2 separate regions of the Homo sapiens genome follow, and region 1 is linked to region 2. Evidence: promoter capture Hi-C in human tissues and cell types (Jung and others, 2019). All regions are on one chromosome and are shown on one strand. The core of a region is centred on a gene start or on the middle of the fragment in contact, and the rest is flanking DNA. Distances in the headings are between cores, read along the strand shown.

What was found. The method cuts DNA at HindIII sites, captures the fragments that hold promoters and counts their contacts. A contact is called where the count stands out against the background at its distance.
Region 1: the fragment with the promoter of SAMD14 here is called in contact with the fragment with the promoter of ITGA3 in region 2 in 1 of the 25 tissues and cell types used here (IMR-90 fibroblasts).

What each region holds. Positions count from the first base shown.
Region 1 is chr17:50,128,840-50,131,855 of GRCh38, reverse strand. It overlaps SAMD14 (sterile alpha motif domain containing 14), which reads left to right and starts at 1,696. Exons shown (of 10, transcript NM_001257359.2): 1 at 1,696-2,339. RefSeq lists silencers at 1,601-1,680, 1,921-1,980. The HindIII fragment of the contact is 12,261 bases long and covers 1-3,016 here.
Region 2 is chr17:50,054,835-50,057,562 of GRCh38, reverse strand. ITGA3 (integrin subunit alpha 3) reads right to left here and starts at 1,453. Exons shown (of 26, transcript NM_002204.4): 1 at 918-1,453. The coding sequence starts at 1,123. It overlaps PICART1 (p53 inducible cancer associated RNA transcript 1), which reads left to right and starts at 1,824. Exons shown (of 3, transcript NR_038230.1): 1 at 1,824-1,934. RefSeq lists a silencer at 1,380-1,519 and an enhancer at 2,499-2,728. The HindIII fragment of the contact is 12,867 bases long and covers 1-2,728 here.

The DNA of each region.
Region 1 (3,016 bases), core at 447-2,946, 74 kb before region 2:
CCACCCCTTCCCCAGATTTCCACAATCTAGCCTCATGGCTGCCAGAAGATTCTGAAGACACCCAGAGACCCCCAAACTCCTATAAATCCCCTAGGATACCCTCAGACCCTAAAGGCTGTTAATTCTGTCCTCACTCATAGTCACAAGATTGTCCTGGTTCAACAGGCCACTTCCCGGAGGCCTCGGACTGCAGAGTCCTGTGGGCCATCAGGGAACTCTGTCCTATAGACTCCACACCTCTCCTCTGACTCTAGACCCCTGATCCAGCTTCACCACTTGCCTTTTTTTTTTTTTTTTTTTTTTTTTTTTTTTTTTTTTTTTGAGATTTGAGTTTCACTCTGTTGGCCAGGCTGAAAGGCAGTGGCACAATCTCAGCTCACTCCAACCTCCACCTCCCAGGTTCAAGCAATTCTCATGCCTCAGCCTCCAGAGTAGCGCCACCATGCCTGACTAATTTTTGTATTTTTAGTAGAGACAAGGGTTTCACCATGTTGGCCAGGCTGGTCTCGAACTCCTGACCTCATGTAATCCACCCACCTTGGCCTCCCAAAGTGCTGGGATTACAGTCGTGAGCCACTGCGCCTGGCCTTTCACCACTTGCTCTTGAGCAAAGCACTTTCCTTCTTCTAAGTCTCTGTTTTCTCTGAGGCAGTGGGTAATGGAAACACCCACCTTGTGGGTTTATTGTGAGGGTGACAATAGATGATCTGAGAGCGCCTGGCACCTGCCAAGCTGTGACGTGCGGTAGCTGGTTGTGGATCCCTACATTGCCTCCCTGGCTGGCCTGCCACTACCATCAGCGCACTGGGTCCAAGTCTGATCTCATCCGTCCCCACCCCCACCTGCTCCAGGGCTTCCTGCCTCAAGCCAAGGTCCACAGCCATCCTAGACCCCTCCTCCCTCACCTCCTAGTCCAGCAGGTCCCCAAATCCTGTCAGCTTCTTCGGTGTCAGCTTCTTCAGGCCTGCATCCTGAAGGGCTCTCAGCTTAATCTGTAATCTTTATGCCCACTGCCACCGGCCCTCAATAGCCTCCAGCGGGTCTCCCTGCCTTCAGAGTGCCCTCTGTAACCCTGTCTCCAGGGGAGCCAAGGGTGCTTCCTAAATGCACACCTGAGCCCCTCCCTCCTCTTAATTTTGTGTGTGTGCGCGCGCGCGCGTGTGTGTGTGTGTGTGTGTGTGTGTGTGGGCGGCGGGGTGGGCGGCTGGTAGAATAAAGTGCAAGCCCCCTGCACCTCCCCAGCTTCAATTTATCTTCCCCTCTTGCCCTCCCACCCCCAACACCCCCTGGCACTTCCCTACCCTGGCCCGCAGTTGTAGCCAACACATCACATCCTCTGGGAATCCCCCAGCCCAGCTCCCGCCGCGGCCGCCTGGACCCAGGCCGGGCCAGGGGTGCGCTCTCCCTTCCGGCAAGAAGTGCCCTCTGTTAGCTGGGCCCATGGCGCCCAGGCTCGTGAGGGCCTCCCCACTCGTCTGAGCCCCCGACTGGCCCACTGGCCTTGAGCGCAGTTAGGGGGCGGGGGTTCTGTTCACCGCTGTCCCCTCCAGCCTCGGCGCCCCGGCTGCTCGGCGGACGTTTGTTGAATGAATGAACTAATCGGGAGCCCTGATGGACCCGGCAGAGGAGGCGGAAGCCCCGTGGGTCCCGTGGCGGGACCGCCCCGGAGCCGCTCCCACCCGCGCAGACTCCGGTGCGCCGCGTCTCCCGCGGGCAGAGAAGTAGCTGCAACTCCGCTCCCCGGCCCCAGCCGCCTCCTCCCCGCCGCCCTCCCCCGCCCCCGCCCCCTCGCTCCCTCCCGCTCTTTGTCTCCTGGGCGCCCGGCTTCTCCGCCACGCGCCCCCCACCCCGACGCCCCTTCCCCGGAGACCCCCGCGGACCCCTGCCGACGCGACGCCGCGCGAATCGGCCCTGCCAGGCGGGGGCCCCGCGTCCGGCCAGGCCTGGCGGGCGGCAGGGGCGGGGAGGGAGGTGGCGCTCGCTCTTCGCTCTTCTCTCTCTCTCTCTCTCTGTCACACACACACACACGCACACGCACACGCACACACACACGGAGCATCCTCCCGTCAGGTCTCCTGGTCCAGCCCCGCCCGCGCCTCCTGCTTCCAGCGAACCTGTTCCCTCTCCCCACATCCCCCGCCCTCCATCTCCCCCGGCTCTGGGACCCTTCCCGCCGACCTCACCCCCACCCCCGGGATGGAGCGGCTCGAGCCCGCCCGGAGCCCCCCGCGGCCGGGGTGACGGTCCCCCCACCCCTCTCCTGCCCGGCCCCCGCCTCGAGCACCATGGGCCTGAGGGGTTCCCGGGGCGCCAGACGCTGAAGATGACCGATGCCGGAGGTGAGGGGCCGGGCGCCCTGGGGTGGACCGGGAACTGGGGCTAGGGCCACTCGGGCCCGCGGTGGGACCCTGAGTGGGGTTGGGCAGGGCTAAGCGACAAGGGCCTTTCTTCCCCTATCCCTAGGGGGACCGCACGGGGCTGGGGTGCCGGGCTGTCAGGGGAGGGGGCGGAGATAGGATTTATGGCCCTAATCCCCTCCCTCCCGCCCGACGCCCGGAGAAATTAATAAAAAGCTGGTGTGGGGGGAGGGGGAGAGGGCTTAACTCTTTCTTGCCCGGCGGGGAGTTGTGCTGATGGTTTGGAGAGAAACTAGCCACCGGGCTCTGACTGGGGAGAAGGGCTCTGAGAGTGGAGTAGGTGCCCTGTCCCCAACCTCACCCCATCTCCAACAGTGCTTTGAGGGGGTGCCCGACTCCTGAGGACTACCCCAAGCCTGGGGCCAGTGGACGGCCGGCGATATGGGAAGGGGGGACCACCTCTCTGGCTCCACAACTGCCTCCCCGACCGCTAGTCTCCTTTCCCATCCACCTCTTCCCGGCCTCTCCCAGTTGCACTTCTCTCTGTCGCTTTCTCCTCTTCAGGGGCCCTTTCCTATCGCCTGCCCGAAGGGCTTCTCCCTTCTCTCCCACCCTCGGGCGTCACTTAGAGCGGCGGAAGCCCTTGTTCCCAGTGCCAG
Region 2 (2,728 bases), core at 204-2,703:
GCCACGGCAGAGAGACCTCTGAAGCCTGGACATGCTCCTGGGCATGAGGGCGTCTGGTGGAGTGAGGGGGACCCAGGAGGCTGGGTGCAACCTCCTCCTCCTTCCTCCACTGTGCATAGCTCTTCCCCTCCTCCTTGCAGCTGTTGGGGAAGGAGAACAGAAGAAAGAGAAAAACACTGTTTCCCTCTTCAAACCAAAACAAACACACTCAGGGTTGAAGATCCAACACGAATCTGTGGAATGCAGGGAAGATGTCTGCGGGGAGAGTGCCACTGCTTGCGGGTGGGCAGGAGGAGACCCAGCCAGAGTTGGGACAAGTCCTCCTCTCTCTTTCACCGCCCCTATCCTCAAGGCGTCAGAGGGAGCGTATGGACAGCTCCAAACGCCCAGACTCACCCATCGCCTCACCCTCCATCCGCCAAGCCAGCGGTTGAGAAGGCCATCCAGTCTGGCTCTGCAGAGGGTGTGGCTGGCGTGGCCGCAGACTACCAGCGAGGTGCTTAAATGTATATGCTCATTTTTCCCCCAAGCGTACGGGAAGGGGGGAGTCCGCTGGGTGTTTATCTTGCAGTTTACCCCAGCTCCCAGCCCTGGAGAGAACAGGCTAGTGCTGGGTACTCGGTTCACAGAATGGGAGAGGACTCAGCCACCGGGACCCCACTTCCGCTCTCATGAGAGATCTAAAGGGCGGAGGGGTGGCGTCCAGACAGGTTCTGGCCCCGTCAGCACTTGCCAATGATTACTGCCCGACCCCACACCCAATCCTCCACTTCCCGCCAACCCCCAGCAGCCAGAGGGCCGCCCCTTAATCCTGGCTCCCAAGGGCCAGCTGCCCTGGGCTCCGACTCAGCTCCGGACCCGCATCCCGCGCTCGCACACTCTCTCGCTCCCACCCCACACCCTCCAGCTTCACTTACAGGTAGCGCTGCTGCCGCTCTGTCTGCCGATGGAGGGCGACCGAGTAGCCGAAGAGGCTGCCCGGGTTCCCGGCCTCCTTCACTACCAGGAATCGGGTATCCAGGTTGAAGGCGGAGACGACGCAGCCGCCGGCCGCCACCATCAAGGCGAGCGCACAGAGCATCAGGCGTGGGGCGCGGGGCGCGCGGCTGGGGCCGGGGCCCATGGCTGCCAGCGGAAGCGGGGTCCCGGCGAGAGCGCGTGAGGGCGCGGAGCTGGGCGTGAGGACCTGTTCACCTGCTCCCCGCGCCGCCGGAGGACACTGGAACCCGCCGGCCGCTGCGCTCCGTAGCGCTGATCGGTTTCGTGCCCCCAGCCCCAGCCAGTTTCACAGCTGCGCTCTCGGATCCCTTCCTAAGATCCGTGGGTCTATCTTCCTGCCTCCCCAGCGGCCGGGTCGCCGCCGTCCCTGCCCCGGGCAACCGGCCCCCAGCTTGTCCCGGCCGCGCCCCCTTGGCCGCGCTGTCGCCTTCGATCCCGGCTTCGCGGCGGATCTGGCAAGCGCACCGGTCGACCGCAAGGAGGACAGGAGGGAGGGGTCCCCCGGCGCGCGCCCCGCCTCCCCACGCCCAGTCCCGCACCTCCCCACCTTGCGAGCCCAGCCCGGGCTGCGCTTTCCTTCCGGGGAAAGAGAAAAAGATCCCGGCTCGGCCGCCTCCTCTTAAAGGGGCAGCACCGCCCCTCCCTCCTCATCCTCCCTACCCCAGCTCCGCCTTCTCCCCCAAACACCTGTCGGCAACCCCCAAAGGCTTAGATTTCCCCTCCCCGCCCCTCGCTTCTCCGAGAAAGCGTCGCCTGGGGAGCAAGATGGATGTGACGGGCGGGGCCGGGGGTGGGATTTGTCTGGCCGCTTTCCTGCGGCTGCTGCTGCTGCTGCTGAAAAGGCCAGCCGGGCTGGAGAGACCTGGCATTGGCGCATCTGGGAACCGACGTCCGTGCGCGGCTGGCTAGAATGCTGGACTCGCCTCCGCAGCGCTGTGAGTCCCCAAGAGGTGGCTGGCGGTCTCTGGGAGTTCTTCCTCGCACTCAGGCCCCTCGCTGTCTTTGCCGAGATTTATTTCTCCTATCCACTCACCCTGATCCGAGCTGAGATTGGCTCCTCAGCAAAGACAGACATATTTAGCAGTGGTAACAACCAAATGTCGCTAATTATAATTACCAAAAAGCATTTTTCCCCCTAAGTGCTGCGACTTCTGGTATCAAAGGCTAAGACTGTCAATGTAGAAATGAGTCCGTCCTTCACAGAACGCACTGCGTAGCCGGGAAGCTGAGCCTAGACCGTATCCATTTCTCGTCCACTCCTGCCTTCAGGGCCCAGCCCAGCAGAATCCCAGAGGCTCCCTCTTCCCACCCAAGCTCGAACAGAGTGTTTGGAGACTGGGCTCGGACGTCAGCACCCATCAGGTGTTTGGTGGGTAGGGCCAGGTGGCAGTAAGTGGGCGGAGACTAAAGGTCTCCTCCACCAAGGAATCAAATCGAAAGGGAACTTCAAGAGGTTACTCTGGCCAGGCGCAGTGGTTCACGCCTGTAATCCCAGCACTTTGGGAACCCGGGGAGGGCGGATCACGAAGTCAGGAGTTCGAGACCAGCCTGGCCAATGTGGGGAAACCCTGTCTCTACTAAAAAAATACAAAAATTAGCCGGTCGTGGTGGCGGGCGCCTGTAGTTCCAGCTATTTGGGAGGCTGGGGCAGGAGAATCGCTTGAACCCGGGAGGCGCAGGTTGCAGTGAGCCGAGATCGCGCCACTGCACTCCAGCCTGGGTGACAGAG